4 separate regions of the Homo sapiens genome follow, and all the other regions are linked to region 1. Evidence: promoter capture Hi-C in human tissues and cell types (Jung and others, 2019). All regions are on one chromosome and are shown on one strand. Each heading gives the region's core, a stretch centred on a gene start or on the middle of the fragment in contact. The rest is flanking DNA. Distances are from core to core; before and after follow the strand shown. Region 1 holds the start of RAMP2 (receptor activity modifying protein 2). Region 2 holds the start of RPL27 (ribosomal protein L27). Region 3 has its middle 17 kb from the start of AARSD1. Region 4 holds the start of NAGLU (N-acetyl-alpha-glucosaminidase).

What was found. The method cuts DNA at HindIII sites, captures the fragments that hold promoters and counts their contacts. A contact is called where the count stands out against the background at its distance.
Region 2: a contact is called between the fragment with the promoter of RPL27 here and the fragment with the promoter of RAMP2 in region 1, in 1 of the 25 tissues and cell types used here (lymphoblastoid cells).
Region 3: a contact is called between a fragment that was not itself captured here and the fragment with the promoter of RAMP2 in region 1, in 7 of the 25 tissues and cell types used here (IMR-90 fibroblasts, dorsolateral prefrontal cortex, liver and 4 more).
Region 4: a contact is called between the fragment with the promoter of NAGLU here and the fragment with the promoter of RAMP2 in region 1, in 1 of the 25 tissues and cell types used here (lymphoblastoid cells).

The regions. Positions count from the first base shown.
Region 1 is chr17:42,759,975-42,762,674 of GRCh38, forward strand. It overlaps RAMP2 (receptor activity modifying protein 2), which reads left to right and starts at 1,253. Exons shown (of 4, transcript NM_005854.3): 1 at 1,253-1,384; 2 at 1,860-1,925; 3 at 2,381-2,489; 4 at 2,623-2,700. The coding sequence starts at 1,288. RAMP2-AS1 (RAMP2 antisense RNA 1) reads right to left here and starts at 1,283. Exons shown (of 6, transcript NR_024462.1): 1 at 906-1,283; 2 at 661-737; 3 at 452-539. RefSeq lists a silencer at 1,367-1,456. The HindIII fragment of the contact is 24,962 bases long and covers 1-2,700 here.
Region 2 is chr17:42,997,137-42,999,836 of GRCh38, forward strand. RPL27 (ribosomal protein L27) reads left to right here and starts at 1,283. Exons shown (of 5, transcript NM_000988.5): 1 at 1,283-1,335; 2 at 1,613-1,695. The coding sequence starts at 1,615. LOC124904006 (a long non-coding RNA gene) reads right to left here. Exons shown (of 2, transcript XR_007065759.1): 1 at 2,585-2,700; 2 at 1-2,250. RefSeq lists enhancers at 840-2,039, 1,005-1,314, 1,325-1,564, 1,635-1,744. The HindIII fragment of the contact is 14,123 bases long and covers 1-2,700 here.
Region 3 is chr17:42,946,483-42,949,202 of GRCh38, forward strand. No RefSeq gene overlaps it. Among named protein-coding and RNA genes, the nearest start is that of AARSD1, 17 kb to the right of the region's middle. The HindIII fragment of the contact is 8,985 bases long and covers 1-2,720 here.
Region 4 is chr17:42,534,791-42,537,490 of GRCh38, forward strand. It overlaps NAGLU (N-acetyl-alpha-glucosaminidase), which reads left to right and starts at 1,451. Exons shown (of 6, transcript NM_000263.4): 1 at 1,451-1,865; 2 at 2,608-2,700. The coding sequence starts at 1,483. RefSeq lists enhancers at 1,164-1,243, 1,757-2,494 and silencers at 1,354-1,763, 1,884-1,953. The HindIII fragment of the contact is 7,033 bases long and covers 1-2,541 here.

The DNA of each region.
Region 1 (2,700 bases), core at 3-2,502:
GTAATTTAGGAAAGTTTGGTGCTGACAGCTGTGTCTGGGACTTGAACGTCATGGCCAAACCAGCTCCTGGGCTCCTCAGCTGCTTCAGACTAATGAACCTCTGGCCCAGGACACAAGAAGCAGCTGTGGTGTGGCTGAAGTCAGGACCCCCGGAGGCCCAGACTCAGCCTTGCTGCTTCCTTAACAGTGTGACCTTAGATAAGTCACTTAGGAAAAGAGGAAAGGAAACTAGCATTTAGCGAGTGCAGTGCCCTTTCACAGCTGCCATCATACAGTGAGGAGGGGAATGTCCCTATTTCACATGAGAAGTCCTGAAGGTAAACGTGTCATTCAAGGCTCTATAGCTGGGGAGTAAGAAGACAGAATTAGAACCCAGAGCTTCTGAATTCAAATCCCGGGCTGTTGGCCCTGAGCTTTAGCTTCTCGGTCTGTAAAATGGTGTTACACTCACCTGGCACATGAAGTCGCACACTGAAGGTTCTAAAACCCCTCCATTCTTTCTCCCAACCGTGGTCCTGAAGAGCTGTGGCACCTTCTTCCTGGGAACGTAGTCATCGTATTTTGCCCTCCCCACAACAGGTTTGTGGGGTCTAGGCCCCAGGAGGTGTCTGAAGGGAAGGTATTTGGACTTTGCTTTCCCCTCTACCCCACTCCCCAGACCTTCTCCCGACTCCAGAGGGCTGGCTCCCGCTTCTCCTCCCTGGTTTTGGCTGGCGGACTGACATCAGCTGGTATTCCTAGGGATAGGATAAGGAACCCTGAGCTGCATGGCTCAGCTCCAGGCGCCCCTTCCCCCACAACCCAGGACAGCCCCTTAGAAGCAGCGGCGTCGAGAGGCCGCTGGAGCTCCCAGCCCCCTCCCTCTTCTCCACGTCTGGGAGAGCAGCTTGCCGACCCCTCCAGACCCGAAAGAGAGAGGGGGCGACTCGAATTCGGGGAGCGATCCTGGGAGACCCTGGAGAGTCCTGGGCGCCACGCAGCCGAGCCCCCGAAATAGATCCCGGTTCCGGGGTTCCGGGAGCTGTCCAGCCTCGCGGGGTGAGCTACGAGAGGGTGGGCCAACGCCGGCGAGGCGGAGGGAGCCGCGGGCGCCAGGCGCGGGTGAGGCAGCGACTCCCCCTCCAGCCGCGGGCCCCGAGCGTCGCCCCCGCCCCCCACGTGGCCGCCGCCGTCCCAGCCCCTCCGAGGAAGCGGCGCGGCTTCCTGCAGCTTGGGCTGGGGATATAGGCGCCCCCACACCCGGGCCCGGCTCAGCGCCGCCGCCGCTCCTCGCCTCCTTGCTGCACGATGGCCTCGCTCCGGGTGGAGCGCGCCGGCGGCCCGCGTCTCCCTAGGACCCGAGTCGGGCGGCCGGCAGCGCTCCGCCTCCTCCTCCTGCTGGGCGGTGAGCGCGGCGCCCCGAGGCCCGGGCGGGAGGCGCGAGAGGCCCCGGAGGGGAGAGGGGAGAGGGGAGAGGGGCTGGATGGCCGAGGCCGGAACGGGCCCTGGGGTGCGGGTTAGGACCGACGTACCTAGCAGCACTGGCCCTCGGACGGTCCCTGACCCCACCTCGGGGCGGGCGCAGCATGAGCTGCTTCCCACCCAGGGAAAGCTGGGGTGCTGGCCCCGGCCCCTCGAAGAGGGCTTAGGAGGACGGAAGCTGGCCAGAGATGAGGGGGCTTTGGGCCTGGGTGTGAGTGACAAGGAGCTGGTGCCAGCCCCTCCCTCCCCGGCACTGAGGCGTCCGTGGGGGCTAGATTATTCCTCCTTTTCTTCCAAGGTAGCCTATTTTCGGAGGGTCTCAGTCCCCCAACCCCCCTCGCAGGCTCCACTGCCGGGGTCCCCGCTATGTTACCCTCCTCTCCCGTTTCTTCCCACAGCTGTCCTGAATCCCCACGAGGCCCTGGCTCAGCCTCTTCCCACCACAGGCACACCAGGGTCAGAAGGTGGGTACCCAGGGTGTGGAAGGGTGGCCGAGGGTAAGGACGAGAGCAAGTTCAGTGGGGAGGGTTCCTTTCCCACGAGGCCTGCCCAACCCCAGCTGATGCCCCACTACACTCCCCTCTGTTCTTTCTTGGGGTTCCTCGTGGTCTTTCTCCCTGTCCTCCTACAAAGCCCCTGCACGGCTCTGAGCTGCCCACCTCACAAGTGGGCGAGAAGACCCCAGGAAAAGGTGTACGTGGAAGTTCTTATCAGGCTGGGATGGAAAGTGCTTAGCACATGGAAGTCATTATAGGATTCCTGAGCTGGGACTCTGTCCTCAGCCAGAATGTTTTGCTAGGGAAACTTTCTGAAGGGTTCCCACGTTTGAAGACAGGCAGTTCACCTTGCAAGCACCTGGGCAGGAGGGTTTGTAGGGAGGGGTAGGGGTGTGGTCATTGTGTAGCATCTGTACCTACAGGGGGGACGGTGAAGAACTATGAGACAGCTGTCCAATTTTGCTGGAATCATTATAAGGATCAAATGGATCCTATCGAAAAGGATTGGTGCGACTGGGCCATGATTAGCAGGTAGGGGCAGTGATGGAGGGTGGCTCAGGCCAGGGGGTGGACCTGCTCATTGCAGGTAGACCCTGAGTGAGAGTGGGGCACTCTTCTCCCTGGGTCCACCCCCTCTCTCACTCAAGTCCTCTTCTGCCCCTAGGCCTTATAGCACCCTGCGAGATTGCCTGGAGCACTTTGCAGAGTTGTTTGACCTGGGCTTCCCCAATCCCTTGGCAGA
Region 2 (2,700 bases), core at 33-2,532, 240 kb after region 1:
AAAACAAAACAAAAGCCATTGCAATGGGATCCTGAGGGATACAGGGAAAATTGTATCACTGGAGAGCTTCAGGAGAGAACTGATGAAATCCTGGTTGTTCCACATCTTGCCCAAGACAAATCCTATAGGTTCAGATAAGCAAAAACTGTGAGATAGTTTATCTTTCCCTTAAACTCGGAAAGCACATAAGGTACCATGTGAAAACACTCTTCTGGTGAGTGATGGGAAATAATTCAGTTTGAGAGCCAACTAGACCTAGATTCAGACCTAGATTTGAATCCCATCTATGCCACTGATTAGGATTAACCTCAGACAAGCAATTTATCCTCTCTGAATTGCAATTTCCTCATGTCTAAATGGGAGGAGAATGCCCAAGATGCAGAGTTGTGAGGATTAAACAGGCTGCCGGCTTGTATAAAGTGCTCACATCTTGCCTGGGAGAGAATCGCTGCTCAGGATGGTGACATGGTAAACAGTATGGGTTCAGGAGTTGAACTGCTTGAGGCTGAGCCCCAGCTCCACTATTTAACCACTATAGACTTCGGGCAAATCTCTCTAAGCCAGTTTCCTCGACTCTAGAATGGAGATAATAGTATCTATTTCTTAGTGTTATGATGACCAAATCAGATGATGTGCATAAATAGATTAACCTGACCTGGCACAGGGTAAGCAGCTGCCATTCTTCTCCTCTACCTCCCTCATGCTTATTCTAGTTGGTAATGTCAGTGACACCACTAGACTTTAACTGTTGGGGGTAAATATCCTTTTTGTTTGTTTTTTTAAAACCAAATTTAGCAGTGGGGGGTTGTATACCAACTTTAGTGACCCTAACGTTGATAAGTTCTGATAACCCACTACTATCGGACCAGCCACCCTTACTGATCTTTGTCCCTCCCTCTTTAGCTAACAGTGCCCCCGACAGGCACCAATAAATGCCCTATTTTTTTCCCTGTGTCTCCCAAGAGAAAAAGTAAATTTCAGATTGTGTTCCCCCTCCTAGCGCCAGAGAAAGGAACTACAACAAAGCCTAGCTGCTGAGTCCAGAGCGCACAGCACAGTCGCCCTCCCAGCTCTTCCGTCGGCCGGGAGGAGTCTCCTTTGCTCTTGTCTACTGCTGGAGCTGCTAATAAAGTTTCATTCGAATACTTGAGCTGCCGCGCCCTGCGTTTCCCTCATGAGCTTCTTCCGCCCGCAACACGAGACTCAGCACCACACAATCAGCGTGGCAAAGCCTGAAGGGCGGGACAGGAAGTGAGGTCACTCCTCACCGGGGTGAAAGGTTAGCGGAAGTGTCCTTCTTTCCTTTTTGCTGGTAGGGCCGGGTGGTTGCTGCCGGTAAGTAGAAGCTTGGGTTGAATCTTTCAATCCGCTGCCATCCGCGGCTTGGGGGTCGAAGGTCCGGGCGGCGCCGGGTGCATTCCTTCCCTAGGTCTCTGGCGGCTACGTATCCGATCCTGTCCTGCGAGCAGGGCCCTCGGGCGGCCTTGACCAAGGCGACAGTGAACACAGTCTGAAGTTCCGGCCCAAGACCTGGGCTTGCTGGCAGGAGTCAGCTCTGGGCATCTTTGGCTTTACGGATTTTTAAGTGGCCCTTTCTCCTTGCTCTCTGCAGAAATGGGCAAGTTCATGAAACCTGGGAAGGTGGTGCTTGTCCTGGCTGGACGCTACTCCGGACGCAAAGCTGTCATCGTGAAGGTATCAGCCTCGCGGGACTCTGCGTCCTTGCATGCCGGGACCAGGCTGGCTGCGGCGGGGCGGGCAGGCTTGGAATTCAAGGCCTGTTTCTGGGGCAGTAGCCAGTGAGCACGGTCAGGGTGAACGTGGGAGAGTTTTTGAGAGAGGAAGAAGCACAGTAAAAGCAAATGTGAGCTGAATTGGGCTCCCAACGCATAAAGCCTTCTCCACCAGAGGCTTTAAATATATAGTAATAGTGGCTGACATTGCACGCTTGCTATGTGCTCCCACTGCCTTTCAGGTATTGTCATGTGCAGTCCTTGAAGTAATCATAGGGGATTCCTTTTCTTTTCTTTTCTTTTTTTTTTTTTTGAGACGGGATCTCTGTCCAGGCTAAGTGCAGTGGCGTGATCACTGCAGCCTCGACCTCCCGGGCTCAAGCGAGTCTCCCATCTCAGCCTCTCGAGTGGCTGGGACTACAGGTGCGTGCCACCATCCCCAGCTATAGGGGGTTCCTTCCTGTTGCTAAGGTTTGGAGGTGTTCTGTTATTTACCTGAAGTGCTGCAGCTGGGAATCTGTAAGAAGAGGAGGAAATTGCTTTTAGAAAGGTCACATAGCCCCTCACTGTTTTCCTCTTATCCATGATTTTGTAGCTTCTTGAGAGAGTTCCCTAGGCTCTGGCCACATACACCACTGCGTTTTGTTGTTGTGGGGACACTGGAGTACCCCTGGATTCCCCTCTCCCATCTCCTGAGACTGATCTCTGGAGTTAGGCTGTGGTGTCTTAACCTTGGCTGTACACTTCACTAGCAGTGGAGCAAGTGAATAGATACCAAGTCCTGTGAGCAGTGCTTGGCATATAGCAAGTACTTCTTAAATGTTAACTGTTGCTACTTTTAAATCTCTTACCTCTAGTAAGCCGTTCCAGATGCTTCCTGATGGAGATAAACACTGTTCTGTTTCTCTTTGGTCATTTCTCATAGCTTTCTGTGATTTTTCTCTTTATAATGGTGGATCTTGGAGAC
Region 3 (2,720 bases), core at 176-2,675, 190 kb after region 1:
GCCTCCAGAGTAGCTGGGATTGCAGGCATGCGCCACCACACTTGGCTAATTTTGTATTTTTAGTAGAGGCGGGGTTTTTCCCATGTTGGTCAGGCTGATCTCAAACTCCCGACCTCAGGTGATCCACCTGCCTCAGCCTCCCAAAGTGTTGGGATTACAGGCATGAGCCACAGCGCCGGCCCTGAATTCAGTCTGTCTACTGCTCTGGGTCTCTTCCACCTGATACCTTTCATCTTTCATACTAACATCTGTTCTAGTACCTACATGCATCACCTTAGTGGAAGCTACAGCAGCTGTCTTCAGCAATTTATGGGTACGCACATAAAAAAATTTCCTTAGAAGCCAAGGAGTCCCCCTTACTATTTCTGTGCCGTAAAGTGGGTTATAGTAACATTCCAGAATATATAACCTGTGTGTGTACCTAAAACTTGATTACTCCAATAAATGAACTCATTTTGTTTCCTGGTGAACCTCATAAAAGACAATCCACCCCTTCCCCTGAACACACTCTGTTCTTCTCCCCCTCTCCCTGGGGCATTGGATTAGGGCCTCAGTGACAGGCAAGAATGACATCACCAGTTCAAAAACTGCTGCTTTATTTTCTCTTTCTTTATACAACCAATTACCATTTTCACATAATTTGCTCAAGTGTTTATGGCTTTTCTTAATTATTTCATAAGGTTCCTTCCTTCTTAGGACACCCAGTTCATGTGTCCATTTTCAGGTCAAGAAACTGAAGCTCAGGGAGTCTCAGCAGGGGGACCAGACATCCAGGCTACCTTAACACCGTCTGGGTTTCTGACTGTTGTTCTGGCATGAGGTTTGCCTAACTCTGGATATTAAAATTACATGGTTGCTCTAGGTCTAAGTGACAAGAACCCACCTGAGTGGTAGTGAGCAAGAGTGGCCTCCCAGGTCACTGTTCTTGTTGTTGCACCTGTGTTCTGAATCTTTGTGTACCCCTAAAAATTCATATGTTGAAATCCTAACCCCCTAAGTGGTATCAGGAGGTGGGCCCTTTAGCAGGTGATTAGGTCACGGGGGCAGAGCCTTCGTGAATGAAATTAGTGCATTATAAAAGAGGCCCGAGAGGGCTGGGTGCGGAGGCTCATGCCTGTAATCCCAGCACTTTGGGAGGCTGAGGCAGGCGGATCACCTGAGGTCAGGAGTTCGAGACCAGCCTGGCCAACATGGTGAAACCCCATCTCTACTAAAAATACAAAATATTAGCTGGGTGGGATGGCAGGCGCCTGTAATCCCAGCTACTCGGGAGGCTGAGGCAGGAGAATCACTTGAACCTAGGGGGTGGAGGTTGCAGTGAGCTGAGATTGCACCATTGCACTTCAGCCTGAGCAACAAGAGTGAAACTCCATCTGTCTCAAAAAAAAAAAAAAAAAAAAAAGGCCCAAGAAAGACCCCTTACCCTTTGCACCAAGGGTGCAAAAAGATGGCTATTCCTGAACCAGTATTTGAACCTTCACACCAGACACTGAATTTGCCAGCTTCCCAGCCTCCACTGTGAGAAATACATTTTTGTTGTTTATAAGCTACCTAGTTTTTGTTATTATAGCAGTCAGATCAGACTAAGGCACACCCTAAAGAAACAAACACAGAGAGGGACAGAGATCTCACACAGAGACAAATTCACATGGGTCTCTGTTCAAGATCCTGCCTGAGTCCTTCTACAAAAGTAAGGAAGCTTCTGTGAAGCAAACATTTCCCTTTCTCCCACTAATGGACCCATTTTGTATAGCATGAGTGTTACACTATGGTTTTATCTAAAACATGGCACTCTGAGAAAAGCAAGATGCAGAAGAGTATACAATGTGCTACCATTTATGTTTAAAAAGAGGGAAGATTTATGTACATCTATTTTTTAAAATACTACCAGAGGGATATATAAGAAATTGGTAACAGGCTGGGCATGGTGGCTCACGCCTGTAATCCCAACACTGGGAGGCCAAAGTGGACAAATTGCTAGAGCCCAGGAGTTCAAGACTAGTGTGGGCAACACGGCAAAGCACTGTCTCTAGAAAAAATACAAAAAATTAGCCAGGTGTGGTGGTGCACACCTCTAGTCCCAGCTACTCAGAGGGCTGAGGTGGGAGGATCACCTGTTCCCAGGAGGTTGAGACTGCAGTAAGCCATGATTGTGCCACTGCATTCCAGCCTGGGCAACAGAGTGAGACTATATCTGGAAAAAAAAAAAAAAAAAAGGCCAGGCATGGTGGCTCATACTTGTAATCCCAGCACTTTGGGAGGCCGAGGCCGGCGGATTACCTGAGGTCAGGAGCTCGAGACCAGCCTGGCCAACATGGTGAAACCCCATCTCTACTAAAAATACAAAATTAGCCGGGCATGGTGGCACATGCCTGTAATCCCAGCTACTCGGTAGGCTGAGGCAGGAGAATTGCTTGAACTCGGGAGGCGGAGGTTGCAGTGAGCGGAGACTGCGCCATTGCACTCCAGCCTGGGCAACAAGAGCGAAACTCCATCTAAAACAAAAAAATTAAGTGATTGATTCTGGAGAAAGAAATTGGGTAACTCAGTGGCAGGGTTGAAGGAAATTTTTGGTAGCACACACCTGTAATCCCAGCTACTTGGGTGGCTGAGGCACAAGAATTGCTTGAACCCAGGAAGCGGAGGTTGCAGTGAGCCAAAATCATGCCACTGCACTCCGGCCTAGGTGGCAGAACAAGACTCTTATCTCCAAAAAAAAA
Region 4 (2,700 bases), core at 201-2,700, 220 kb before region 1:
TTTTTGTATTTTTAGTAGAGATGGAGTTTCACCGTGTTAGCCAGGAGGGTCTTGATCTCCTGACCTCGTATCCGCCCGTCTTGGCCTCCCAAAGTGCTGGGATTACAGGCGTGAGCCACCGCGCCCAGCACCTGGCTAACTTTTGTATTTTTAGTACAGACGGGGTTTCACTGTATGTTGGCCAGGCTGGTCTCAAACCCCTGACTTGAGGTGATCTGCAAGCCTCAGCCTCCCAGAGTGCTGGGATTACAGGCGTAAGCCACCGCTCCTGGCCTAAGGTTGGCTATTTTTATGGTTATTTCTTGATTATATGATAAACAAGGGGTGGGTTAGTAATGAATTTTTCAGAAAAGGGGTGGGGATCCCCCCCAACTGAAGGTTCCTCCACTGTTTAGACCATATAGGGTAACTTCTGGACGTTGCCATGGCATTTGTAAACTGCCTGGCGCTGCTAGGAGTGTCTTTAGCATACTAATGCATTATAATTAGCGTATAATGAGCAGTGAGGACGATCAGAGGTCACCTTCCTGTCTTGGTTTTGGCAGGTTTTGACCAGTTTCTTTGCTGCATTCTGTTTTATCAGCGGGGTCTTGTGACCTTTTATCTTGTGCTGACCTCCTGTCTCATCCTGTGACGAAGGCCTAACCTCCTGGGAATTCAGCCCAGCAGGTCTCTGCCTCATTTTACCCAGCCCCTGTTCAAGATGGAGTCGCTCTGGTTGGAAACTTCTGACAAAATGACAGCTCCTGTTATGTTGCTGCTGCTGCCGCCAATGGACAGCCTTTAACGTGCCCGCCAGCCCTGCTCCACCGCCGGCCTGGGCTCACATGGCCCCATCCCTCCTCGAACCTCCTAGCCTGTTAGTTACTCAAATCTGCAAGCTCTCTGCCTTCTCAGGGCCTTCAATAAATGCATTTCTTCTGTCTGGAAGGCTCTTCCTTTCCCTCTTCTAGCCAATTCCTATTCATCCCTGAGTTTCAGATTAAAAGTCACTTCCTTTGGAAACCTTACTTCGCTACTTCGCTACTTACTGCACTACTTCGCAGCATCACAACTATGATGGAAATCCTTACTTACGTTAAATATCTGGTTTCTAGGTCACCTCCCTGACGGGGACGGTAGGGACCGTCTTCTCGTTCATCAGTAGGGAAGTAGCTATGGCAGTGCCTGATACAAAATAAACTCCAAATGTGTATTTATTAGATGGTTGGATGGAAGTTATTTGCGTGTGAAAGCGCGTTTTACCCGAAGGCGCTCTGTGAGGGCCAGCGGGTCCCCTTCGGCCCTGGAGCCGGGGTCACACGCTCCCCACCGCGTGCGGTCACGAGACGCCCCCAAGGGAGTATCCTGGTACCCGGAAGCCGCGACTCCTGGCCCTGAGCCCGGGCTTAGCCTTCGGGTCCACGTGGCCGGAGGCCGGCAGCTGATTGGACGCGGGCCGCCCCACCCCCTGGCCGTCGCGGGACCCGCAGGACTGAGACCATGGAGGCGGTGGCGGTGGCCGCGGCGGTGGGGGTCCTTCTCCTGGCCGGGGCCGGGGGCGCGGCAGGCGACGAGGCCCGGGAGGCGGCGGCCGTGCGGGCGCTCGTGGCCCGGCTGCTGGGGCCAGGCCCCGCGGCCGACTTCTCCGTGTCGGTGGAGCGCGCTCTGGCTGCCAAGCCGGGCTTGGACACCTACAGCCTGGGCGGCGGCGGCGCGGCGCGCGTGCGGGTGCGCGGCTCCACGGGCGTGGCGGCCGCCGCGGGGCTGCACCGCTACCTGCGCGACTTCTGTGGCTGCCACGTGGCCTGGTCCGGCTCTCAGCTGCGCCTGCCGCGGCCACTGCCAGCCGTGCCGGGGGAGCTGACCGAGGCCACGCCCAACAGGTACCGCCCCGAAGCTTCCCCGCGTCCGCCCGAGGCGCTTACCCCCTCCCGGAGCCGCTGCCACCCAAATCGGGAGGCTGAGCGGGGAGCGCTGGCCGGAAGGCCCAGCTGCGCCGCCTCCAGCAGCTGTGTGGCCTTGAGCCAGCCACTCTGCCTTTCAGAGCCTCGGCTGGCCCACCTGAAAAACGGAAAGAAGACGCCTACCGTGCAGTGTTATTGTGAGGATTTGCACGATGATGGGCATAGAATTTGTGGTGCACAATTGGTGATGAGTGAATTTTCTTGCCTTCCTCCCCCACCTTCTCTTTGAACCTGCGGACTGAGGAAGGACGCCTCCATCCCCCACCCTACAGGCCTGTGTTCCAGCGCCTGCCACACTATGGAGTGATGTGTTCACACAGCTGTCCTCCCCTGCCCATCTGTTAGACTGTGGGGGCAGGGATTCCCCGTTCCAGGAAAACACCGTGCAGAGGAGGGGCTCTGGCAGTGTGGCATGAAAGTGGAATATGCCACCCAAATACCCGCCAGGCTAGAGGGCCCTGGGAGAGTGCAGGGGACGAGTGCCTCAGAAGCCCAGCCCCGGTACCTGGTCTCAGCTCCACCTGGGGTGGGTCCCAGTGTGCAGCAGAAGGGCCGAGTTTGGAGCCCCTCCCCTCTCCTCTAGGTGGGGGATGGGGGATTTGTTCCAGGGCCGTGGACCCTCCAGGGTGGGATGCGCCCCTGCTCATGACACTGCCCGCAGGTACCGCTATTACCAGAATGTGTGCACGCAAAGCTACTCTTTCGTGTGGTGGGACTGGGCCCGCTGGGAGCGAGAGATAGACTGGATGGCGCT